7 separate regions of the Homo sapiens genome follow, and regions 1, 3, 4, 5, 6 and 7 are each linked to region 2. Evidence: promoter capture Hi-C in human tissues and cell types (Jung and others, 2019). All regions are on one chromosome and are shown on one strand. Each heading gives the region's core, a stretch centred on a gene start or on the middle of the fragment in contact. The rest is flanking DNA. Distances are from core to core; before and after follow the strand shown. Region 1 has its middle 91 kb from the start of CDH20. Region 2 holds the start of CDH20 (cadherin 20). Region 3 overlaps CDH20 (cadherin 20). Region 4 has its middle 120 kb from the start of CDH20. Region 5 overlaps CDH20 (cadherin 20). Region 6 overlaps CDH20 (cadherin 20). Region 7 has its middle 72 kb from the start of CDH20.

The links. Contacts are between HindIII fragments. The study calls those that stand out against the background at their distance.
Region 1: a fragment that was not itself captured here is called in contact with the fragment with the promoter of CDH20 in region 2 in 4 of the 25 tissues and cell types used here (H1 embryonic stem cells, liver, mesenchymal stem cells and 1 more).
Region 3: a fragment that was not itself captured here is called in contact with the fragment with the promoter of CDH20 in region 2 in 3 of the 25 tissues and cell types used here (bladder, dorsolateral prefrontal cortex and hippocampus).
Region 4: a contact is called between a fragment that was not itself captured here and the fragment with the promoter of CDH20 in region 2, in 6 of the 25 tissues and cell types used here (adrenal gland, bladder, heart left ventricle and 3 more).
Region 5: a contact is called between a fragment that was not itself captured here and the fragment with the promoter of CDH20 in region 2, in 6 of the 25 tissues and cell types used here (aorta, bladder, dorsolateral prefrontal cortex and 3 more).
Region 6: a fragment that was not itself captured here is called in contact with the fragment with the promoter of CDH20 in region 2 in 5 of the 25 tissues and cell types used here (H1 embryonic stem cells, dorsolateral prefrontal cortex, hippocampus and 2 more).
Region 7: a contact is called between a fragment that was not itself captured here and the fragment with the promoter of CDH20 in region 2, in 2 of the 25 tissues and cell types used here (ovary and thymus).

The regions. Positions count from the first base shown.
Region 1 is chr18:61,240,712-61,244,201 of GRCh38, forward strand. No RefSeq gene overlaps it. Among named protein-coding and RNA genes, the nearest start is that of CDH20, 91 kb to the right of the region's middle. The HindIII fragment of the contact is 3,001 bases long and covers 352-3,352 here.
Region 2 is chr18:61,331,261-61,335,049 of GRCh38, forward strand. CDH20 (cadherin 20) reads left to right here and starts at 2,170. Exons shown (of 12, transcript NM_031891.4): 1 at 2,170-2,567. The HindIII fragment of the contact is 19,388 bases long and covers 1-3,789 here.
Region 3 is chr18:61,397,257-61,401,071 of GRCh38, forward strand. The region is part of intron 1 of CDH20 (cadherin 20); the gene reads left to right. Among named protein-coding and RNA genes, the nearest start is that of CDH20, 66 kb to the left of the region's middle. The HindIII fragment of the contact is 8,240 bases long and covers 1-3,815 here.
Region 4 is chr18:61,213,587-61,217,328 of GRCh38, forward strand. No RefSeq gene overlaps it. Among named protein-coding and RNA genes, the nearest start is that of CDH20, 120 kb to the right of the region's middle. The HindIII fragment of the contact is 3,990 bases long and covers 228-3,742 here.
Region 5 is chr18:61,421,604-61,425,056 of GRCh38, forward strand. The region is part of intron 1 of CDH20 (cadherin 20); the gene reads left to right. Among named protein-coding and RNA genes, the nearest start is that of CDH20, 90 kb to the left of the region's middle. The HindIII fragment of the contact is 5,425 bases long and covers 1-3,453 here.
Region 6 is chr18:61,442,772-61,446,476 of GRCh38, forward strand. The region is part of intron 1 of CDH20 (cadherin 20); the gene reads left to right. Among named protein-coding and RNA genes, the nearest start is that of CDH20, 110 kb to the left of the region's middle. The HindIII fragment of the contact is 4,049 bases long and covers 1-3,589 here.
Region 7 is chr18:61,259,531-61,262,848 of GRCh38, forward strand. No RefSeq gene overlaps it. Among named protein-coding and RNA genes, the nearest start is that of CDH20, 72 kb to the right of the region's middle. The HindIII fragment of the contact is 6,105 bases long and covers 1-3,318 here.

The sequences.
Region 1 (3,490 bases), core at 602-3,101, 91 kb before region 2:
TTTTGGTTTAAAACATCAGCTTCCAGGGACAACATGGTCAAAGCACAAAGTTTTAATCTGTGCCAGGAAAACATCAGTGCCAATGATGTCTAACCCACCTGGATCTGTTGTTTGAGTTCTACCCACCAGCTCTCCTTGCCAAGAGTTGTCCCAAACCATTATATAGCTGCCAATGTGTCTGAGACCCCAGTCTATTCTCACAATGGATAAAGTTGGGAAATGCAACAATTCTAGAAGCTTCTCAGAGATACACCTGAACTACACTATTGTCATTTTGGCACATGTCAGACAAGTTGAGAGAGTTATAAATACATCTCCAGTACAAATTACATCCCAATGTTCTAATGCATTCTAGCTACTCTGTGGGTGTTGCAATTCAATATTGATTTTATTTAGAGCAAAAAGAGTTATTTGATGACAAAATTTAAATGTATACTGCATAAAAATTCAATTTTTAAAGAAAAGCTTTACTTTCAGATATATTACAACAATAAAACGGCAGCTACCAACCTCTTTAACTCCTTCATTACAATGATCTGAATGCCGAATGCAGTTCTCGACTTCTTTCCATTCTTTAAAAAATGATTTCTCTCATCAAGATAAAGCTGGAGACCACCCAGTAACTACTGACTTCCCTGGGCTAAGTATGTTGCAAGCTTTTTCGTTAATCTTACAGTTTTATAATTCGTCTGAAATAGGCTTGACTGCATTTGTGTTCCCATCATTCTTAGCTTGCCTTCTGATTTTATGCACCCTTGTCTGCTCAAGGAGATTACTAAGGTTACTGATGTGTTTTTAATGTAAATTTCTCCCCTTGTCATGAAAAGGAAAAATTATAAGGATGTCAAGTAATATTGAATGTAAATAAGCCTTTCTCACCTCAGCTCATGCTAAATTTCTACCGCTTAGTAAATAAACTGGTAGCAGAGTAGGAGTAATGTCAATGATCCACTGAAGGTTGCTAGTTTGAGGCAGAACAATAAAGCAAAGACTACAAAATACTAATGACGCTTCTGGGTGCTGATATTGCTTGCTTTCCATGGGGATTCACAGATCTAAATGCTGTTTTGCTGGCATTAACATGGCTGTGGAGCCATTGCAATACAAACACTGGCAGTTTAAAAAAAAACAAAACTATCTGGCAGTTGGACAGATGACCCAGGTGTTAGCAGTAATTCTGTGCCTCATATTTTCAGTTTATTCCCAGAAGTTTAAAGGCACTGAAGGGGACACCAATCATTCTGAGCAAGTGATCAGTCTGACCTAGCAACTAAATGATAGGGAGGGACAGACAGACATTAGTGTAAAAACACACAGACAAACAGAAGTAAAGGAAAGGGGAATTGTGACCTGAAACCAAGGGTCAGCGATGTGTCACAGCCTGTTATACGTGGCCTACAGAGCCAAAATATGTACTATCTGGACCCTGCCGACCCCTGTTCTAAACACTCCAATGTGGAAATCCTTTTGTGTGTGCTCTTGGGGTACTTAATAGGCTGTGGATATTTCTGCAGAAGCCAAGCACGCCTGCTAACCAGGTGTGTGAGTGTGTGTGTGTGTGCGCCCTAGTGAGGAACCCTAAAAGCAGACATTGAGATGAGAGTTTGTGTGCAAGTGATTTTTTATGGAATGCTCCCAGGAAAAGCCAGTAAGGGTGTAGGGAGACAGGACAGGTCAGAGAAAGAAGCAAAGCTAATGTGGGATTTTAGGCCAAGCTTCAGCTTCAGCCTGATCCTATAGTGAGCTCAGGAATGTAAATTACACTTCAGAATTGGTCCTGTCTTCCAAGGCAAGGAAATCGGATTCCCCACTCATGTAGCAAGCATTGGTTGTGAGAGGAGGGAACAGATATAAACATTTAGGGGCTTTCTGCTTTCTGGGTGTCTAGACCAAACTGCCCCATTAGGGCAGGGCTCTGAAGAAAACCACCAGTGTGTCACTCCAAGCAATGCACCTGGAGCTGGATAAAGCACAAAGGAACCCACAGGACATCAACAGGCATGAGTGGACGTGGGTGGAGCACAGGCAAGCCCGATACCAGGTGTGCGTGCATTAGCAAACACGAGGGATTTCGCAGATAGGATTCAGTGCAGAGTGGCAAAAGATGGGATGCACAACTTTATCAAACTCATCTAGAGGCCTCTGCTCTACCTTGACACCATGAAACACCTCTGTCCCCAGCATGAAGCAAAATGATCATTGTAATCATGGTTAATATTTATTGAGCAAGGTCAAAATATACTGAGCCCTTTGAATACACTATTTTATTTAATACCATAACAACCGTGCAAAGTTGGTATCATTGTTCCTTTTTCAGGGATAAGGAACACCATGCTCAGAGGGGTTAAAACAGCTGAATGATCCAAAAGATAAATGACCCAAAGATACTTAGGAAGTAGGAGAGATTAAATATAAACCCAGATGAAGTCTGCCCTACTCTGAAGCCCTTAGTCTTCCCACTCACCTACCTCTTGAGTTGGGAGAACTGAAAGATATGCCATTCTCCAGAACATTCTGAAAACAAAACTCAACTGTGTCTCCTCTGTGACACAGTACATGGGAAAATCTCAGAGGGTGAGAGTGTGGAGAGAGAGAGAGAGAGAAACAGACAGTGAGCTGATATAACCATCTCATGCAAGAGGGTGCCAGGACTCAAAGGGCAACTAGAATGAGATGATTCTCTGTGGTTTGGGTTTTTCAATCTATTTTTAAAGAATGTAAGCTCAATGTTTAAATAATTCAGTGATCAGCTTTCAAATTTGTACAAGATTCTGAGGGAGAAAGGCCAGTGTGTATGGGCAGTGATTCTCAAATTTTAATGTGCTTCCAAATTCCCAGGGAGTGCGTCTCAATGCTCATTCCCAGACTCATCTCTTAGAGATTCTGCTTCCAAATGTCTGGCTGAAGGCCAGGCATCTGGATTTCTTCTGGAAGATCTGAGGCAGGTCATCCATAAGTTGTCTTTTGAGAAACATGGTTTTAGAGAAATGGGCAAGAATGACTAAAAGAATCCGTGTCTACCCGAGAATAGTTGCCTTACCTGGAATTACGATAATTTTACAGCTTTCTCCCTCTCTCTTTGTATACATAGAGAGAGAGGTAGAACTATCCAGGCTGACCAGCCAGGAATGGTAAGAGATTTCACTTACAGATGAGTTAGCCATATGTGACTTCTCAGTATCAATCTGATTCTGATCTAGAGTTGGAAATTAAAAGTTGTTAATTTCTGATATCAAGTGCAATGAACTAGATCCAGATTTTTTTGAGTATAAATATGTGCACCAATTCAGTGTGATATTTTTTTTTTTTGAAATTCCAAGATGAGTAGGAGGAAGAACAATTTGGTATGCTGGCCAAGTTCTATTCTGGGGTAATTAAAATCTGCCTATTTAAAATTCTTTTTGTAAATTTCAGTAGCTATAGGCTTCTTCTTTACTTCCTGTTCTAAAGGGCCATAGAACAGTGCCAACGTTAGCTGACTGTCCTATGA
Region 2 (3,789 bases), core at 920-3,419:
CAATCTCTCTCCCTCATCCAGTCTGCCAATTTAGATGCTAATCTTATCCAAAAAACACTCTCACAAAAACTTCCACGATAATGTTCCACCAGATATCTGAGTACCTTATGGCTCAGTTAAGTTGACCCATAAAATTAACCATCACACTATCCAAAAAAAAAAAAAAAGACTCATGATTTTCTCTAAATTTTGTGTAAGAAATTGATCACCAAAAACAAGTCACTTCAACAAAACACCAAGAAACTGATTTTCTTTTTAGACAAGAAGACAGTTTAAGCTGCTAGAGACCGGAAGGCCCTGGACCACTAATCAGAGTCCTTTGGGTCAAAGTTGATCTCCCCACTTATGAGCTATATGACCTGGACACACTACAGTTGATCCTTGAACAACAAAAGTTTGAACTCTATGAGTCCACTTAGACATGGATTTTCTCCCATCTGTCATCCCTGACAGGGCAAGACCAAGCCTCCCTCTTCCTCCTTCTCCTTCACCTGCTCAACATGAAGCCAACAAGGATGAAGACCTTTATGATGATCCACTTCCACTTAATGAATAGTAAATACATTTCATTTTCCTTATTATTTCCTTAGTATCATTTTCTTTCCTCCAGACTATTGTTAAGAATACAGCATATAAAATGTATAGCATATAAAATATGTGTTAGTCGACTGCTTATGTTATCCATAAAGTTTCCAGACAACAGTAGGCTATTAGTAGTTAAGTTTTTGGAGTGAAAAGTTATATGCGGATTTTTGACTACACGAGGGTCAGTGCTCCTAACCCCCATGTTGTTCAAGGGTCAACTGCCCTTACTTTATTGAGCCACATCTGCATCATCTATTAAAATAGAGAAATAATAGTCTAGACTGAATAGAGTTGTTGGAAAAATGAAATGAAATAACATGTGTAACACATGTCTGTCACATAACAAGTTCTCCATAAACATTAGCTATTCTGCTATTAATAATCATTGTTATAACTATGAGTTCTAATTCTAGGCCTGCTGAAAGCTATTAAAATATGGCATGACTGCCTTAACTGGGATACTATTTCTATTGTCACACACTTGGGAATCTTATTGGATGTTTATATATATCATTTTATCAGTTCTTTACACACATTGATCATTTGGCCACAGAGCAGTTGTACAAATAGATTATTTAGTAACCTATCAATTCAATCAAAATAACTTGCTCTATTACAATCAGTGATGGGGGAGGAAATCCTCCAAGCACCTTGCTTGAAGAGAAATGTAGAAACCACATCGGGCAAAAAGTCCCCCTCCAGCCACTGTGAAACCCAAGTTGTCGTCAGTAACTTGACATTCTAGGGTAGGAATCAGGACAGGAGAGAGGTGATCTCTCCTTTTGACCTTGTGTATTCTGACCTCAGAAATAAGAGCTGGAATTGCCTTCTGGAATGGGCCTGTCACAGTATTGTGTGATTTGGGGGACCCCCTTCATCTGGGAGAGAAGGGTGGTCTCAGCTTCCACCTCAGAAATTTCTGACCCTTAATATACCTCCACCCCATCTCTAGTTAAAGGCTTAAAACTCTAAGATTTTCCTATGAGGACAAAAAGAAAAGGAAATCTGAGCATTTGAAGAAATTCTTAAAAGTCGATGAGTGAGGTTTCCCTCACACATGCCATCTTCCCCTACCTCTCCTCTTGAAAACAATGTCTTTTGCACCCTCAAGGTCAAGGTTAAACCCGAGTTGGTACTCATTTCCTTTCTGATTTTATTTGCCTTATCCTGTTCTACTCCTCAATTGCCTCTTCCAGAATCTGTGCAAAATAATTACCTCAACTTCAGGGGAAAGTTTAGATGTAAATACCCCCGCCCCCCTCCCCACGTCCACACATCCCCTTTCTTCTCTCTCCCTCTTAACATTTCCTTACGCTCTCAGCCAATAGAGGAGTTGAAACATTTAAATGCGGTATCTAAACTGCATTTAAAGAATTAACCCATTTTGCCCCTCACTGGTCTAAACCACAGGGTGCCAACCGGACGTTAATTGCTTTCATCTGGTGGGGTTCCAGACAGCTCCTCAGAAGGAAGGAGCGCACATTCCTGGCACCAATTGGCTAATTCAATTTACTTCAGCGGCATTAGCCTCTGTCAGAATATTCATGAGCAGGGGAATGAGGACCCGCGGTACAGGCAGGCAGCAGCCACTCCTGCTAGGGAAGGCGCGAGGGAGGGGAAGCGGACCGCGCGCCACGCTCGGGGGACGGTGACCGCGACCAGGGGGCTCTTCTCACTGGACAGGCCGAACGCGGTGGCCGCGGGAGGGCAGGGCAGGGCATCGGCGGGGTTGGTGCACTTGGCAGTACCCCCCAACTCCTGGCAACCGCACGGAGACTTTGCGAAACATCCGAAGGCAGAAAAGCTGTGACACTTCTGACAGAGGGGGTAGGGGGGTGGGGGGCGGGGACAGCGCCGCGAGCAGGGGTGAAGAGACCCAGCGGGGCACCAGCCGCCCAGTGGGGGAGGCAGCTACGTGAGCAGAACGCCCGCCCTGGAGCAGTTAGGACCGAAGGTCTCCGGAGAGTCGCCGGCGGTGCCAGGTAACGCAGAGGGCTCGGGTCGGGCCCCGCTTCTGGGGCTTGGGACTCCGGGCGCGCGGAGCCAGCCCTCTGGGGCGAAATCCCCGGGCGGCGTGCGCGGTCCCTCTCCGCGCTGTGCTCTCCCAGCAACTCCCTGCCACCTCGACGAGCCTACCGGCCGCTCCGAGTTCGACTTCCTCGGACTTAGTGGGAGAAGGGGTTGGAAATGGGCTGCCGGGACTGGGGGAGCTGCTCTCTGGAAGCAGGGAAGCTGGGGCGCACCGGGGCAGGTGGAGGACGTGGCGCGCTGGGAGCGGGGACTGCGCGCGCCTGGGGATGGTGACTGGGGATCCAGGAGCGCGGCTTGTGGGGGCGCTTGGCACGGCTTCACCCTCGCTGGCCCCGCAGGCGGTGGCGCCTCCCTCCGCCTGCAGAGGGGACAGGGTGGCCGCGTCCCTCGCACAGAGATGTGCGCCGGGAAGGGGACCAGAGAGCCAGGCTCCGGGGAGGCGCAGGCACCTACGGGGCCGATCCCTGGTCCGTGCCTCGCGCCGCGCCCCCGCCGGAGCTCGGCTGTGGGAGGAGAATGTGGTGGGTACTCGAGTCCCCGCCACCTGCCGGACTTCGCCAACTCCCCGGATTTCCTGTCCTCGGGCCCTGACACTCCCAAGGAAAGCTCTGAATTGCGCTCGCTGTTTGGTTTTTGCTTGTTGTAGTTACTCTGGGGGAAGAGCCGGGGGCAAGGGGGTCAAATGGGGCTAAAGTTTCAGATTTGCAAAGAGAACGTTACCGAGGACTCTCAACGTGTCCTTAGCAATCGGAGAGACTGCAGCAGCCTTTGCCTAGCTATCCGCCTCTGGGGCAGCAGTGGGGGCTGAAATCTGGAAGGCAGCCCGGAGGCAGCGTCAGAGCCTTGTTTTGTTTTGTTTGTTTCTGCCGAGACCAGGCTGGAAGTGAGAGGGGATAGTACCAGACAATCGGGGAGTTGGTCGCCTGGTAGATTCAGAGTTTACTATGTTGTTGCTATTATTATTAATGCTCTTGTTATTGGCACGAGCACCAGGAACAATTTTTTTTCTGATTGTTATAAATCGCCTGCAAATTGAACCTGCAGCCGCCTCCCCTCAAATGAAATGTCCCCGGACCTCCTCCAGTCTCTGATGTGTGTCTTTCCACCAAAGGAAATTACCCACTCAGAGCTGTGGTGCTGTCAGGGACTCAGCTAAGGAATTGGATCTACCTA
Region 3 (3,815 bases), core at 1,039-3,538, 66 kb after region 2:
AACCTCCCCATACTGAAGGAATATTTTATCTCATCCAGGAGAATAATTTTCTCTGCCTCATAAAATTTCTTCCAGGCATTTTTCCTGGAGTCCTCCTGGCCTGGCCTACCCACTCCTGAAGCAACAAAGCACATGACTGCCTGCTGCAGCCCCGCAGCCCTGTGGAGTTTCTTGAGCATCCAAGGCCTTCCCAGGGTCTGGATACTCTCAGGGCTCCCGGGCTGGCTCCTTTTAACCAACCCTGCCTCCATGTAAATGTCACTTCCCTGACCACCCTATGCAGCCACCCATCACCCTCCACTACCCTGCTTGTTACAGCTCATCATTTTTTGTTTCTTTCTTGCTCACCTGTTTATTGTCTGTATTCCCTCTGGACTGTAAATTCCAGGAGAACAGAGACTACCTCTGTCTTGTGGTTAAGAACACTAACTTTGAAGCCAGCCTGCCTGGGTTCTAATCTCAGCTCTGCCACTTACTAGCCGTGTAACCTTAGGCAAGTTACTCAACCTCTGTGACTTAGTTTCCTCATCTGTAAAATGAGGGAAACACACCTCATAGAGTAATTATGAGAATTAAATGAGTCAATGCCTGGCACATAGTAAGTACTATAAAGTGTTTATTAAAAGAAGTATTTAGCACTTAGTATGATGCCTTAATCGTAAGAGATGCAGAAAACGTTTTTGTTGAATGTAGGAATTCATAAAAGAATGAATGAACGCTACAACTCCAAACAAATGTAGTCTCCCAACTGTGATTCACTTGCTCTGCTAGCTAAGTCAGAGTGCAACAAGATCAAGGCTATTTGCTTGAATCCTAACAAGGGCAGCATAACTTATGGCTTTGTACCAACTAACTACATCCCTAGCCTGTGTAGCCATCTAGCAATTGCATTGTGCTGTTTACAGGTTGCAATGAATGAGAGTCTGAACGGGTCACTATTTGTCTGTCACAACTAGTATACGAATCATACATAGTACATGTCTTATTTACTCTAATTTTATAGTTTTATCTGCTTTGTAATTGATAGTTCTTGTTTCTAATCATCCTATAAAAACTATGTAATTTGCCAACAATTCCAGAACCTGAAAAGAGTAGTATCAATTTAATTATGGTCTTCTTAATTTATATACATATATCTATATGTACATATTTACTCAAGTAGCTGGTTATGATTAGGAGATCATAATTAGAAGATTAAATGATAAGCCAAGTATTTAAGGGATAATCTATGGAAGTGTCTGAAAAACCTTTCTGCTGATCAGCATATTGACATCTTATTTTCAATGTGTAAAAACAACAACAAAAAAGGAAAATGTAAGATATTTAAGAAGATATAAAAATGGTTCTTACAGATGAGTTATTATGAATTTAAGATGGTCTCCCCTATCTACAGAGCACAGGCCTTCTTGTGTTATCATTTGTGGGCATTGAGACTCCTGAGTATATACTTTTCTGTTAGGTTTGCTTTTCCTCTGTCCACTCCAGGTCACTCTACAGGAATCAATGGCATTGTCAGCATGGCCCAGTCACAAAGAAGCATGGCCCAGTAAGAAAGAAGATTACGCTAATATTAACAAATAGAAATGAGTTAGAAGGATATATTTACTGTGGGAAGATCTGGCCTATATCAGTATGTTCTGAGTGGCCAGCACAAGTCTGCCAGGGAGGACAGGGTAGGCCCTTTGATCCCACGATGAAGGGAAAATTACTATTTCCCTGGCCCAAACTTATCAGCTTTTGAGGAGCACAGGGTTGTCATGGGTAAATGAGAGTCCCTTCATTTACCTGTTCATACAGTACATTTGAAGTTTAGTCAAGGCATGGAAAATATGAAACTTTTATCAACATGACTAATGGAATGAAGACATAAGTCAGACACATTTTGCAGTGACCAACCTCTCCGATCCTGACTGCATAGTCATTCATTGCTAATTCACATTGGGTTTTCAGTGGGGTTCATAGAACACCAGCAGTTGTCTGTACCTCACAGAGCAGGACGTCTGAGAAGTTTAGTGAATGTTCCTCACAGCAACATGTTCTATATTCCACTATTAATTCCAGAAAGTACTCGAGTAGCCTAACTTCTAATTTAACCTCTTCTTTCTGCTTTCCTTGGGTCTCATTTTCCAATTTTAAAATCCACATAGCTAGAAGGCCACATATGGAAATGATATCTCCCTGTTACACTTGGCTTTGTGTCAATATTATGATTCATTTTATACATTTCTTCTCCAGCCCGAAATCCCATCATGTTTTGTTCAGCTCACTGGATCAAAAATACATCACCCTATCATTTCCCCACTGGAAAACATACTACTGCCATTTTTTTCATGGAAATCAGTCTTTAATATTTGTTCACTGATCTTCACCTCCCCCACCAATGCCTCTCTCCACCCCTGCCTAAAATTACTCATCATTCTAATAAGTTAATATATTGGAATGGAAAAAATTTGCTTTCAGTCTCAGGGATCAACTTATGATCATCTTAAATCAGCCTCTTTTTAATTGATGAGTCTATAACAAATTGCATACTTTGGTTTACTCTGTAAAAAATACAATTACACTAAGGCAAAGCTGGTTATGACTCATGTATAATGAAATGAAAACAGTATCATCATTAAGCACCAAATAAAGCCATTGATTCCGTGTATTATTCTGTCAGTTTTAATTGAATTGTATTTCCCCCTTTCAGTTCTTAATTATGCAGTTCATGCTGAATCTTTATTTTTATGCACAGAATAGGATAATGTTCTTTTCCTCCTTACCTTAGTGTCTAAAAATATAAGCCTATTGAGAACAGAAAAGTCTTTGTTGGTCTTAATTAAAGCAAAACACCTACTTTTATCCTAGGAGCTGAATGTGTTGCTGTACTGTGAGACTGTTACCAAGTGAGGGGACAATAGGGCTGCTTCCTGTTGCATGTCCACCTCCCTGACCTGTAGTCGCAGCCTCTTTCCAAATTCTATCAGAAGAAGAAAACATCACACTATCTGGCAAAGGAGGTCCATGGGGCCTCTCCAGCCTGCTAATGAGCATTAACTCTTGTCTAGACTGTCAGGTCTAGACAGAGCAAGGCAAAGTAGATACTGCTTAACTTGGGGGCAGATGTGATTAGTGAGATAACAGTCAATCTGAAAATTCATTCTTTTCTTCAGTTAACTTGCGAAAGACCTAAAGGCAAAAGCAGGACTCTCTTCTCTGGTAATATGTCACATAACTGAGATTATGTGCAAGTGAAAATGAGCAAAGGGAGATGGAATGTCTATCAAACCTAGATTTAAAGGAAATCCTGCTACCACAGTGTAATTTCTGTAGTTGAAAAAGAGACAAAGGGAACACAACCTCTACCCTCCTCTCGTTCCATAATTGTGTTAGCTGTGTCGAAAGTGCTTCTGCCAGATTCAGGTAAATGCATCACCCTAATACCTGCACAATTTTATTTCTAGGATTCAATTCACAGGAGGCAAATGTTCTTGTGTAAAGATATCAAGTGATAGTGTTAGGAAGTTATTCATCTTGGACCATATAATAAAGGCTATCTTGGAATTCAGAACCAAAGAATGAGCTCTGGTCAGTCTTTGGTGTCCCAATAGTATTCGATATAAACTGAAAGATTATTATCATTGGCTTGAAACCCCAAATGACAAGGGCCTGACTCATAATAAGTATTTAGTGGGAAAGAGGAAGTGGCTGCTATTTAGACTTAACCTTAGAGTTGAGGGATTGTCCTCCTCGGGCTGAGAACATTTGATCTAATGCGTTGAAGGGCTGGCCCTCCCTGGAATATCTCCTACCTCTGGCATATCAAACTATGC
Region 4 (3,742 bases), core at 973-3,472, 120 kb before region 2:
AGTGGTGATTCCTTTTCATTCAACCATTTGCACCCTGTCATCTGAGCTCCATTGCAATTAAAAGTAGAAGTTGGTGAGATGTGTGGCCTAAAAATAATGGCCATAAAATCAAATGAAACTAACTGGCCAATGTATAGATTGAACTAATAGTTATTATTATGTCATTATTAGCTCCATGTTGTTGAAAATACATCATCAGAGCCAACGAAGACAAATAGTAAGTAATAAAAGAAAAGGGGGTGAGGACCTTCAAACTCTTGCCTCAAAGAACTTTAAATGTTATAATTTATCCTTACTTTAATTCAAATGCCAAACATACGGAATTCAAACAATCCTACAGATTGGCTTGTCTGATAATCTTGCCAAGAACTAAATACAGAAGAATCAATTTTGAAATTTAGGAATAGAACAGAGAGGTGTCTCAGACCACAAAGACTGTAGAGCCATACTTTGGTCCTGTTGGCAAGACTTTAACTGTGTAATATTGTTTCTTTCTTTTATGGCTAGTGAGATCCTTCATTTTCTATCTGAATCACATCTTCTCTATGTGAGATACATGGCACCTAATCAATCTGTGTCTACCAAAGCCCAAGAGATATGGTGTCTTCCTAGAACACAGATCCCAGTACATGTACTCAGAAGTCAATTTAAAACAGATCACTTGATTTTATTTACAATTGGGACCATGTTAAATTTACGAGGAAGACAATCAAAAAAGAAACTACATAAAGAAAGAAATAACCAATCAAAATGAGTTTGTATGAATCTGTTGTTTTACCATACAGTTTATCGGTTCAGAAAATGTCCAATGTGGAATGGCATGGTACTGAGACCTCCAAAAAAAGAAAATAAAGTCTTCTGAGAATCATTTCCTTTGGAACCTAGAGCAAGAAATAATTGTCAAGGAAGTTTGAGGTCTAATTTCTACTTGCTAATGTTTTGTGTGACTTTGTACAATTCCTTCAGCCCCTTTAGGTTTTGGTGTCTTCCACGACTGAAATGAGAAGGGGTGACCTGGATAATTTTCTTGTCCCACACGACTATAAATTCCAACCTGAAGATTCCTAGCGTCATTCATAGTTTAGGAACTTGTGCAGTGTGGCACTTGAATGGCAACAAGGGTGCTTCTTAGGAAACAGGGACCATTGATAAGCATTTCTCCTTATATTCCTGATACCCTGTTCTGTTAAGCTCTGTATTTCAAGTGATTACCCACAGAGGGAATGAGATGCTCTTAATTAGCTTCCTGAGTACCCTGAGGACCACACTGAATTTATAAAAGCATTTCTTCATTTACAATGTCCTGGTTTTTTCCTCCTATTCCAAATATGTTTGCATGGGAGATATTTTAATATTTAAATGTGTGTGCCTTCTAGATAAGGCCTAAACATACCTTCTTTTTAACACAGAAAATGCAAACAAATAAAGAGGAAATGCCAAAACATAGGAACATTGTTTAAAACAAAAAACAATACAAAATAGAAACAGAGAAAAGGCATTATCTATTGGTCCAAATAGGTCTTTAACCCATGCTTTGAAAATTTTTCCAAAGAGATCCTTATGCCTTTGTTTTTCCTTTTCCAATCTTAGAAAAGAAAATATTGGATGATGTTATAAGATGTCATAATTGGACTGAGAAATGCCTGTGTCAAACAGAATGCTCTTCAAGTATCACTGGAAATTGAGAACTTTGGCGGAGAAAAGCCTTTACTTAGAGATAACCAAATAAGCCTAGAGAAAGCATGTGGTGCAGTCAATCCCTAAATTTGAAGAGAAACAGCAAGAAGCATTTTATTATGCCTATTCACTTTTAAACCCCTGAAGGGAGATTAGCGACAAAGTAAATACACATCCAAAACATCTTTACTATCCAGTATGCATCATTAGAGGGGACAAGTTCTTAAAGTTCTGTTATGACATAAAGTAGCTTTGAAGTTGCCTCTGGTTGGCATCAGGTAGCTCTTGGCACAAAAAGCCAAGCAGGACTTGCAGGGCAGCCTGCCACTGGCCTAAGAGAAAGGAGCATTCATCTGTTGGGAAAGCAAATGCTTGATGAGTAGAATGTTGACTTCGTACTGTTGAAGGCCTCAAGCTTCATCTGTTTGCAAAAGAGAGGGTATTTTGGAGCGAGTCCTGTGTGAGCAAGCTGCAGAGAGGCAGGGTGGAGATGGAAAAAGATAATCTCCCTGAACATCTGTCATGATTACACATAAAACCTTACTACAAAGTCAAATGAGATCTGCTTGGTACTTTGGACTGTTAAGCCTCTGCTATGTGAATGAATGTTTGCAGTCATGACTGTGTGTTTCTATCTGGTTTTATGATGCCTATCATTATAGACCCAGGCAGTCAAGGGAGGCATAAGCATCATAATCAACAGGTCAACAGAGAAGGTGCATTTGCCCATATAAGTCAGAGGATGAGGCACAATTTTCATATGCTCTTGTGCTCTTTTCCAAAAGGAGTCAGGCAGGGAAGTAGACATACTTGCCATTATAGTAGCTGCCAATTTACTGTGCTTTTCTCAACTGATGAAGCCACAGGCCACTGTCACTCCAAATCTTGTCAGCAAAGATGGCAGTGGAAGAACAGTGACAGCAGCCTTCTCTTTCCCACCACGGTGAGGAAGAGAAAGCCGTTCTCCCACAGAGCCAGCACATTTGGTGATACCTCCAAACTCAGCATGGCGCCTCGAGGCTTGGCTGCCTACTGCACAGTAAGGGTCTTTTGTAATTTATTTAGATGCATATTGACCTTATTTTCTTGGCAGTGACATGTGAGAATATGTTCTTTTGGAGGATTTGGGCAACGGGGATGGGGGTGTCCGGCACACTGCCTTGCTTCATCCTCTCTGTTGAATTCACCAGTGCAGAGCGGTTTGCCACCTCTTTTCTCTCCATCAGAGCATCACCATCTTTGCTGGAGATGGCATTTTCAAGCCCTCAATTTATATCAGAACTTTAAGACATGAAGCTATACAAAATGAAATATTTGGATGTCACGTGTTACCCTTATACATAAAAACCAAGTAATGAGTTGATTTTTTTAAAAAGCATTTGCCAGCCAGGTTTTTCAAAACAACAAATATCCCTGATATCAAAATAATTCTCTGGAATCAGAAATCCACAGACATTTAAACTGAAACAACATGGCAGTCCTTTTCTTAGACAAAGATACCCTTATAATGATAAGCTTTAAATGGGCATCACCTCCACACTTGTAAAGAGACATGCTTCTAAGGACCATGACAGAGCCTGTGACAGCATCTCATCTTTTCTTAATTCACTGAAAAACATCTAACAAACATCTTTTAAACTGAGTTACTCCCCTTACGATTTTTTTATTCTTCCATTACAATATCCCTCAGCTTATATCATCTAAGTAATGTTAAAATTCAGTTCTCTTTACCTTGATTTCTTAAATATTCAAAATGATAATCATTTACATTTAAATATGGCAATTACCTTAGTACATCACAAACTGCCAAGGTCTATATTTTCATAACATCTTTGGACTGGAACACAAAAGACATGTATACAAATTTGCAGTGGACACCAAAATTAGGATAGGTGGTTATAATATTATGATTCAACGATAATAGAAGACCAGAGTTCAGTTCCTCCTTAACTGCATCATTTCCCCCATAAGACACAGAAAAAAATATTAAACAAGATGACTAAATTAACAATTAGTCTCTAAATTTGATTATTTTCTATAATACCTGGGTATGTGGCATATAAAT
Region 5 (3,453 bases), core at 240-2,739, 90 kb after region 2:
AATCAATTATACATCTCAAAGTAGCCAGAAGATAATATTTTGAATGTCTATAGCATAAAAAAGAATATTTGGGGTGGTAGATATATATACCAATTAACCTGACCTGATTATATGAATGTATCAAATTATCACATGTACCTCAAAAATATGTATACCTAATATGTATCAATAATAAACCAGATGGATAGATAGATAGATAATCATGAGTCTTGCTTTTCCAGAGGGGCACATAACATAGAATTAATTCCAATTCCACTGGAAAAATTTTATTTGGTCTGATTAGTGTCAATGAGGGGGGAAAATTCAGTAGTTTTCATCTAAATAGTCACAAATTCCATTTTCAATAACGCTCATATCATACAATGAACTAATTTTTCAAGCAACTTTTCAAAAATCTATACATTACCATGCTTACTGTACTTACTATCTAAAATAACAAAAGAAGCATACTGATTTGGGATTAATATGGCTTCTAGTCCATGCATTCAGGGACCTTAATGAGGATGGTAATATTTTAAAAAATACATGAAATTCACGGTTCTTTAGCTCCATGGGACAGAAAAGTGATTTCCTACACAAGCTTAAAGACATAATTAAACATATATTTCATTTCTCTTTCAAGAATATTCTTCTGAGCTTATCGAATACAGCTGCAGGGAAAGCAACTGGCAGTTTCCAGGCAAAAGGAAAACTATCAGTTCTTTATAAGCTGCTTTATGGGTTGTCAATTTCTCTATCTTTCCACATTGGCATCTTCTGTCTTGATATCATTTAAATTAAATTAGAAATTAGTGTTTTACTGGGAAAAAATAATGTTGCTACAGGGCAAAAAATAAATAAATAAATAGCCACATTAATGAGAATTTTTCTAATTACTTTCTAGTTAGCCAGGCAGTTCTGTTGACCTTTGCTGTGTTTTTAGGAGAAGCTGTTATCAGAAGAAAACTCCACAGTTATAACTGCACATTACATTTTTTAAAAAACCTCAAACTTTCTATGTTCAGGGAAGTATTTTTACTCAGCATGGGAGCCAAGATTCTGAAAAAGATTATCATACTGTGAGCTTTTGATTACATGACATTTAATAAAAAATTACTCACAGTATACAATATAAAGAGAACAAAAAATACTTTTGTTAAATGTTTTAAATATATAAAATATATTTATAAATATATACTTATATAAATGGTCACATTTTATACAATAGCTACCAAGTGTGAACGAGCCCATAATTCATAAATAAAACTGTCCATGACTCATCTAACATAAATTTTATGAAAGAGTAGGAGAAAGTAGTTCCAATGATTATATTTTGCTTTTGACTATGTTTATAACGGAATTCTCTTTTACACAGAGAGCGCAATTGTTATTTTTGTAATTTAGGATAAGTCTTGTGGGTAGATGAATGATTTAGCTACTAAATAAAAATACAACTTTATCATTGTCAGTTGGTTTTTATTTCTTTCTGTTCTTTTTATCAAGAATATTCAATGGCTGGTCCAATGCGAGAAGAAGAAACAGGGCAAATCCTGGGGAGGTCCCAAATCACGTCAAGTGTGGACCAGTAAGAATGTGGTCAGTAGCGTCAGATCAGCATCAAAGATGCAGAAGGATGAGGTATACAGAGCACAGGGATAAGGATTTGGGGAGGGCCCCCTGCCCTCTCAGGGTCTCTCTTTTCAGCTAGGGCAGCCCCCATCAGAGCACTCAGTGTTATAGAGACACAGCCTGGACCCTCTTCCTGCTTGAGCTCCTCTAAGTGTGTCTGAGGACTCATGCCTTCTTGTAAAGAACTCACTTATCTGAGAGTCATAGTTTCATAGTACAATCCCATTCACTTGTTTGTGAATAATCTCTGCATCATCCATCAGGGCCAAGGCCCTATCTTACCTTTACCCTGACTCCCCTGAATATGCTACACTACAAGATTAAGCATCTATTAAGTCCAGGCTGACTCTCTCTGGAAATTTCTTTTTTTTTTCTTTTTAATTTAATAGATCTATGCTACATTTTATAACATCTAGCAGTAAAAGCCACTGTTTAATCATGATGTATATCAGACTCCCCATTCCTGCTTCTCTCCAGCCTTCACCCCATAAAAAAATTGCTAAATTCAAAGCTTTTTGAACTCATTCTATAAATCTGAAGTTCTGGAAAATTATTTTATTCAATATAAGCTGTCCATATTTCACTTCCAAATGCTAGATTAAATTCTTTCAACGTGACAGTGTTTTATAGTTTTCTAAAATACAAAAATTAATTAAAGAGTATAGCATATGCACAGAGACAATGATATCATTTTCAAAGATTTTAATCCTTTCTAAATGTTTATATTTTTTCTAATTTTATCTTCCCTCATTCTCTGGCAAGTATACCCTTCTTCGCTTCCTACGCTCATCAAAAAAATGGCAGCAAGACAACCTCCAGCACTGCATTCTATGCAGACTTGAGTATATGCAACAGTGTCTTCAACTCATGTTTGTTTTACTAATACATAATTGTACATACTTACGGGGTACATGTGATATTTTGATACATGCATATGATGTGTAATGATTGAACCAGAGCAATTATGATATCCATCACCTCAAACATTTATGACTTTTTTGTGTTGGAAACATTTCAAGTCCTCTCTTCTAGTTCGTCTATTTTGAAATATACAATAGATTATTGTTAGCTACAGTGAGCATTTCACCAGCAGACTTAATCAACTTGTGTTTACAAGCAGTGTGCTACAAGCACTGAAGACTTGCCTGCCATCTTGTGCAATGTTTACTAAATGGGAGGCCTACAGAAACCAAAATGTGTCTCTCTGAGCATTGGAAAGTATGGCAGTGTTAGCACTGATTATTATTTGTGCCTAAATTAGACTTAATTTGCTCTAGGTTAGATACTATACCCTTCTCAATCAATACAATATTTGTCATGCTATGGAAAATTGTAAAATATACAGTGATTGCTGAGATCTCATCCATCTAGAATTTGTATGTACTAATTTTATTTAATGTCAAATAGCATTGATTTAGAATTAGCCAATGTAGTATGGGAAAAAACATTTCTCAGAATGCATATTCTTTTTCATATTTACTTTGAGGTAGACTTCTTAGTATCATTGGGATAATATTGGAATCCAACCTGATATAAGAACCTACCCTCTGCTAATAAAATTTTAACTCATGTATTTCTTCTTCTTCCTTCATATTTTTGTTTTCTAACAATAAAAAATATGAAATAAGAACCTAGCCCTGGGCCACAAACCATTTGGGGAAATTCCTCAGTATTAGCATCTCAATTTTTTAACTAGAGAGAAAACAAATCAATAATTGGATTAATAATTAGGTTCTTGAGCTTCTAAAATGTCTCTCATTACTTGATGGGTTCTTTATTTTTTTCTCCTTCTTCCAGTTCCTCTCCCTCTCTCTCCCACTTCCCCGCTCCTCTCTCTCTCTCTCT
Region 6 (3,705 bases), core at 315-2,814, 110 kb after region 2:
CAATACTTTGATTTGACCTGCTCTCTTGGGAAGGTTAGCAGTAATTCATCTCTGAGCAGTTAGCAATGGCACACAGATCTGGCCTTCTGAGGCCCTCACTGATTTGCCCTCAGATTTAAAGATCTAATTCCCCGGGATCCTGAAAAAAAAAAACAGTGCTTCCCAGATTGGAACTACTTACTAGTGATTTTGCTGTGAGTGAAAGAGCGTACGCATATTCATCTTTCCCAGTCTCATCACTGAGCAGCTTCCACACGATAAGTTGTAAGTACTTTTATGATGGAAAGGGTGGGAGAGAAGACCTCATGAATGGGTGAAAGAATAAAGGAAGGAAGAAAAGGGACATTCTTAATCACACTCCTACTAGGTTTTTCCTCCCAGGGCTGAGCAACAATTGTGCTTGTTCAGTGAGCCCACTGATCCTTAGGGGTTTTGAAATCAAATGCCTCTAAGGGCCAGCAAACAGCATAAATGAAAAAACTGGGCCAAACATGTCCCTTGGGTTCTTTAAAGGTACAGGCCCCATATAAAAGGGATAATCACTTCTCAGTTCCATCTTTCTTTTGCTATGTAGGAATATGGAATCTCTACATATCAACTGTTGGAGGGACACAAAGACATGATGAAGAGCTATTGAAAATGTGGAATTTTATTTAAAATATTTATATTTTCAAGTGTTGACAACGGTATGCAGGCCAAAGAAAACATGACTGCAGGCTGGATGCAGCCACATGGATCCCAGATGTACAGTCTATGCTCCAGAGCCGTGCTACTCAGAGTGTGGCCCTCGGACCAGCACCTGTCCACAAACTATTTGTTCCTAGTCTGCAACAAGACAGGGAGCCCACAAAAGAATGCAAATCAGCTGCATGACTAAGCACACCCTGTCGTTCAGATGACATTTTTTTCCATAGCGAGATTTTCTTTTATAGAGGATGCAGGGCACTGATTTACATTCTGGCATAAGCTCGTTATCCCACTGTTGGTTGCGATTTGGACAGCCTTGGTCTCTAGAGAAGCTTTCAGGACCCCTCTCCCCATGGTGCTCTATTAGGAATTTGAATGGCCCAACAGACCATGTTGGGGACAGAAAGGGAAAAGGAGAGAGTACAACACTGGTAGGGATCTGGGAAATTGCAGATGGCCCTAGATAGCCAGGGTATGGGTAGTCCACCACTGGGAATCTCCAGTGACTCCCAGTGCACAGTGTCGGCAGGAAGTCAGTTGTCTGGACCCGTTACTCTTTCCCCTGAATATACCCAATACCTGGACTCTCTCAGACCCTTTAGAGTTTGGGGCTTATAGCTAGTCAAGGTATATTGCATGTCTTGTACATTCTTAAGTAAATACTTGTGTATTTATTTATTTATGGTCCATCTCTCTGTCACCACTGCCTCCCTCCCCATTCTGCACCATAGATTTCAACCTCCAAAAGGGTAGGGTATCTAGACTAGTATCTAATACATAGTAGATACTCAGTAAATGTCAGATGAATGGGTGATGTTATATCAAAGGTATGGGTATATAAGACAGGTGTATACATTATTAGACAGATAAAACAATTTTTTAAAAATGTTTCCAGATGCTGACATATATCTTTCTTGGGAACTGTTGAGTATATTTTGTTTTTATGTCCAGACCAAAAGGGATGTTCAATGGCTATTAAATATGGTATGGGATATGCTTGAAGGCTAATACCCTTGTAAAAACAGACTGAAGTTGGCAGCTATGGGAAAAGTTGGTAAATGGAGGTTCTCAGGCATTGAGATAGTCAATTACTTGCTGGTAGTCTTTTAAAGGAAAATAGATTAATCTGTCTGAGGAAGGTCAAGAGAGATTCAACCCAAAGGGGGAGGGCTGCCGGAGAGGTGCAAGTCCTGTGCAAGTCTACATGGGTGGCTGATGTTAGAGGACACAGCAAACTACAGCCGTGAACTGTCTGTTGAATGAGGCAGAGCTTTAAACCTTCCTCTTCTTTACTAAAATTCCTCAAAATAATCCTGCTTATCAATCATATTACTTTCCTGCCAGTCTCTTGACCTCCCTTGTTCTCCATAATTTCAAATTCATTATGTTGGAGTTTTGTGGCCTTTTCTAATATTTAGAAACTCATTACTTTTTAAATCTCCTTAGCCTATTTCCTCTGATTCCCAGTACTAGTGGAAGAAAGGGGTTGCTCTAAATGCTATTCTAAGTCTTTATTCTGCTCTCATCATTCAAAAGTTTCTTCTTTGAAAATTTATATCATTTATTAATATCATCCATTCTGAAACTTCATTACTATCTTCTACTAATGCCTACCACCTTCTTATAATTCCTTCAAAGGTTTTAAAGCTTGGCTATGAATTTTCTAGTCTGCCCTACTCCTGCCAGCAGCCATAATAAGTTTAGAGTTAAAATAGTAATTATTATATTTATAATTATATCTACTATTTATTTAGTGCCTACCATGTGCTGGTCACTATGTGGTGTCTTACAGGCACTGTTTCTAATCTATAACAACCCTGCAAGGTAGGTTTTATCCTCCATTTACACAAAAAAAATCCACAAATCAGAGAAGTTCTATAACCTGCCCTAAGCCACAGAGTTGTTAGCAATGGAACCAGAAAGAAAACACAAATCTAATTGATGCCAAAGCCTAACCTCTAAGTTTTCCTAATAATAAAAAGAATAGCCACAATTTTTTAAACTGGCAGCCATTAGCTTTATATTAATTACTTCCAAATGTCACAACAATCCCACAAGGTCCCATTATTCTCATTTTAAAGATAGGAAAAATGAAGCTCAGAAATGTTAAGTAACCTATTCCAAGTCACATAAGTGGTCAAAGATTTGAACTCAGATTATTCAAAGTCCAACACTCTTGCTCTTTGGACAACCACACTGACAGATACAGATATGTCTGTTTAGTACATTGCTAAAACCCTATTCCAATTTTCTATTGCTACAAACAAACCACTCAGACTTAATGGCTTAAGACAACTATAATCATTTATCTTTCTCACAAATCTCCACTGTGGGCAGGGCTTGGGAGGGAGGGCTCCTCTGTGCTCTGCATGGCCTCAGCTGGGGCTGGTCAACCCAAGATTTGAGGGTCTGCTTTCCAGATGGTTCACCTCCAGGACTGCTAAGCTAGTGCTGGATTTGTCCAGGAGCTCAGCCTAGGCTGAGGGTCCCAGGCTTAAGTGTCCCTGTATATAGATCTCTCCATGTACCCTGGGCTTCCTCAAAGCATAGCAGCTGGGTTCCAATGACAAGCATCCCAAGAGAGAGACAGACAGAAGCCATATCACCTCTTAGGGCCTAGCCTCAGAACCCACACAGCATCATATGCATTGCATTTTATTTGTTAGAAACATATGACTAAGGCTAGCCATACCTAAGGAGAAGGAAATTACACTATACTTCACGAGGGAAAAATATCAAAGGATTTACAGACACGTTGTAAAACTACATACACACAGTTTCACACTTTCTCACCCACTTCACCTCCATTCTGCTCAACTATTCATAAAAATAACACACCTCAACCGCATCAGCATCACTGAAGGGACCATCAAACACAAGATTTTCACTCTGGAGCTCTCCTTCTTTAACTGTTTCCTGTTCTCACCGCTCTCACTACCTTACTTGCTTCTGAACATGACCTTCTCCGCCAAGAACTTGAATCTTTTTCTCCATATCCTTCAAGTCTGTCATCTCTCA
Region 7 (3,318 bases), core at 185-2,684, 72 kb before region 2:
ATAATACCTGTGACATCATGGGGCAATTATTTGGGTTTTTAAATATTTCTCCCTTGGGCATGTAGGAAAATTTGTTTGACCTTTAGTTAAAGACCATCTCAGGCAGAGAATTGATTGCATCTGCCCTCCAAGGTGATCATAAAGACAGTTTCACAGCACAATTGCTACAGAGAAGCTTTTTCCTCAGGTTTTTCTTCGAGTGATTTGGTAAAAATACTTAGGTGACAGAATCATGGCCAAATGCCTCCCAAACCTGCCCTCCAAATTTTGAGGGAGTTAGTACTTAAGCTGCTTTGTGAGTATCTTTATTTCGCCACTGTGCTTGGGGACCAGCACCCACATACATGTTTGATTGGCATGCTGACCAAACACAGGATGAATGCAATTAAAGTATGCCTTATTTTTTCTTTTCTAAAGTTTCTTTGGATAGGCTGCAGGTAACTTGGGGTAACTTGTATATTTTCCACCAGTAACACTCTGACCGAGGCTCCCTTCTCCTGGTGTCTGTCCACTGCACTAACAGGCTTTCACTGGAGTCCCCTGCCTGACAGTCCTCCCTGCCAGGACCTGCTAAGGCTTCATGAAGTTTGCTCTCCTCCCAGAAGGGGCCAAGATGGAGTCTTGAGGGAACACTCCCATGGCAAAAGGGAGTTAACTCTAGGTCTCTGCTCTCCTTTCTCTCTCCCCACCCCACCCTGCCCACGCCTCCCTTTCTCCTCTGCTCTCACTCTCTTCCCACCTGCTCCTCCCACTACAGGCCATGCTGTTTTAGCTTTCACAAAGTGAAATCAGGCACCAGACCTCATGTCCCCAGCTCCAGGAAACTGGGCTTTTCAAGAGGCCCCTCTCAGCTCTCCACCTGCAGTACAGGAAAGCAGCCAGACTCTCCAGTGGGGTCCATGCAGGAAGGCATCTCTGTCTTTTGTGAATTTCTGAGCCATCTCACCAGTTCTCAGTCACTGACATTGAAATTTCCTCTTGGAGTTTGGCATCTCACTTTTAAATTTCACATCTATTCTATTTCAGTGTCTTGGACAAGATTTAAAAGTTAACATTCTATTATACATTCATATGTACATTCACATATACATCCATACTCGATTTCATACTTTATACATTTACAGCTTTGAGATTTTGATGGTTCAACTCTGGGACTTCACTAACTACTAAAAAACCTGATTGCTGTCTGATGGAAGCTTTCATATAGTAAATAGGAGCAAGTCTAAAACTTAACTACCTATTTATCTATCATTTCGTATGGAAGGAATTTAAAGATGGCTGTAAATATGCAATAACATAGTTTAATGGAAGACATTAGGAAAAGCATTAGCTGATTTTATATAATCCCTTGAGTTGGGTTGCATTTTATTTAATGACTTGAATGTGAATAATTAAATAGGTGGTTATTCTGTACTACTGATTCTTCTGCATATATAAAAATCACATGGGGGCCATTAAAATTAAGATTCCTTGGAATCTCTCCAAGCGTCTCCATTTTATTAAGGTGATTCTGATGCATAGGTTAAAAAAATACATTTGAGAAATTTCTATATATCCTGATGATATGCAGACCCTAATAATACACCTATAGGTATATTCAGGCATGACACAGGGACATCTACTTTCATATACCTAAAAGATGCCTTTTACGAGCCTCAGTCAGCATCCTGACCAGCTAATCAAGAAGATTATTTAAAGCTGAAATCATAAAAACAACGGAAACAATCCACATCTCTCTTTAACTTCAATGGGGATAACATTTACTTATTCACCAGTCTTTATGGGGCTATCTTTTACTTTAGTATGCTTCTTCTGATTATTCTAATAGACCATTCTTTCCCAAGCGACACTCCTAATGTATTCCCTGCAATTCCCAGTTTGAGTTTCTTTAAAGTGGAGTCAGAACCTAAATACAAAATGAATGCAAATCCTTTCTTTTTTTTTTTTTTAATTTTTTGTTTTTGAGACCCAGTCTTACTCTGTTGCCCAGGCTGGAGGGCTGTGGCACAATCTCAGCTCACTGCAACCTCTGCCTGCTGGGTTCAGTGATTCTCCTGCCTCAGCCTCCCAAGTAGGTGGGATTACAGGCATGCACTGCCATGCCTGGCTAATTTTTGTATTTTTAGTAGAGACGGGGTTTCACCATGTTGACCAGGCTGGTCTCAAACTCCTGACCTCAAGTGATCCACCTGCCTTGGCCTCTCAGAGTGCTGGGATTACAGGTGTGAGCCACCGTGCCTGGCCCATTTCTTGACTTCTATTATTTCCTTCTAGTATTTTATAGCTATATAAAATATATAAACTTATAGTACACACCTAGATTTATAGCAATACATTTTAGTTACTCACCTCAAGCATCTTCAAAACACTCAACTTAGTTTCCATAAAAATAAAATCCAAAATCCCTATTTCCTTATTGAATTCATAGGGCATTGGTTGAGGTAGGTTCAATTAGGTTAAATGATAGCAATAACAAGAGTAACTGGTACACACAGGTTTGGGTAAGAAAAACCACTGACTCTTGGTAAGAATATGACTCACCTGTGGGGAGCAGCAGTGCAGGGTTGCACTAGAGTAGGAGTTGGCAAATGTTTTCTTTAAGAGCCATATCATAAATCCTTTATTCTGTCAACCACTCAACTCTGCCTTGTGATATAAAAGCAGCCATAGGCTCTAAGTAAACGAATGGGTGTGGCTGCGTTCCAATAAACCATTTTGTTATAAAAAATAAGCAGCTAGTCCATAAATATGAGTTGGACAACACTTGGACTAGATCAATGGATTTCATGCATTAATTAGTGTGCATCAAAACTAGCCAGCATTTCTAATTTGGTTGGTATAGGGTGAGGCCTGAGAACTTGCATTTCTAACAAATCCCCAAGTGATGCTGATTCTGCGGGTGCTGGGCCAGGGATCTCTCTTTGAGAACCACCAGACTTGTATTTAACTGATTGGCTGTAGATGCCCAGTGTGCTGTGAGCAATGGTTAGTATATTTAATGAAGGTGTTTTATCCCAGGCTCCCTTGAAAACTAAGCCCTAAGAAAAACTTATTAGCTAATGCTTTGAGAGGCAGAGGAACCCCAGGAAACAAGAATAAGGGAAAAGGAGAAGTGATGGGGGAAATGAGTGAGAGCAAAAACATGAAGGTATGTTTCTAAATAGGCCACAACTTCACAACAAACATAGCTGGTTGCCTGATCTCACAGGTTGTCTCCATAGAGCCTATTAAACTACTATTTTTTAAAATAGTCTTTGATGGGGAAGAAGGACGAGAAGTAGATCTGCTGGCTTCTTCCCTCCTTATTGGTTGAAACTC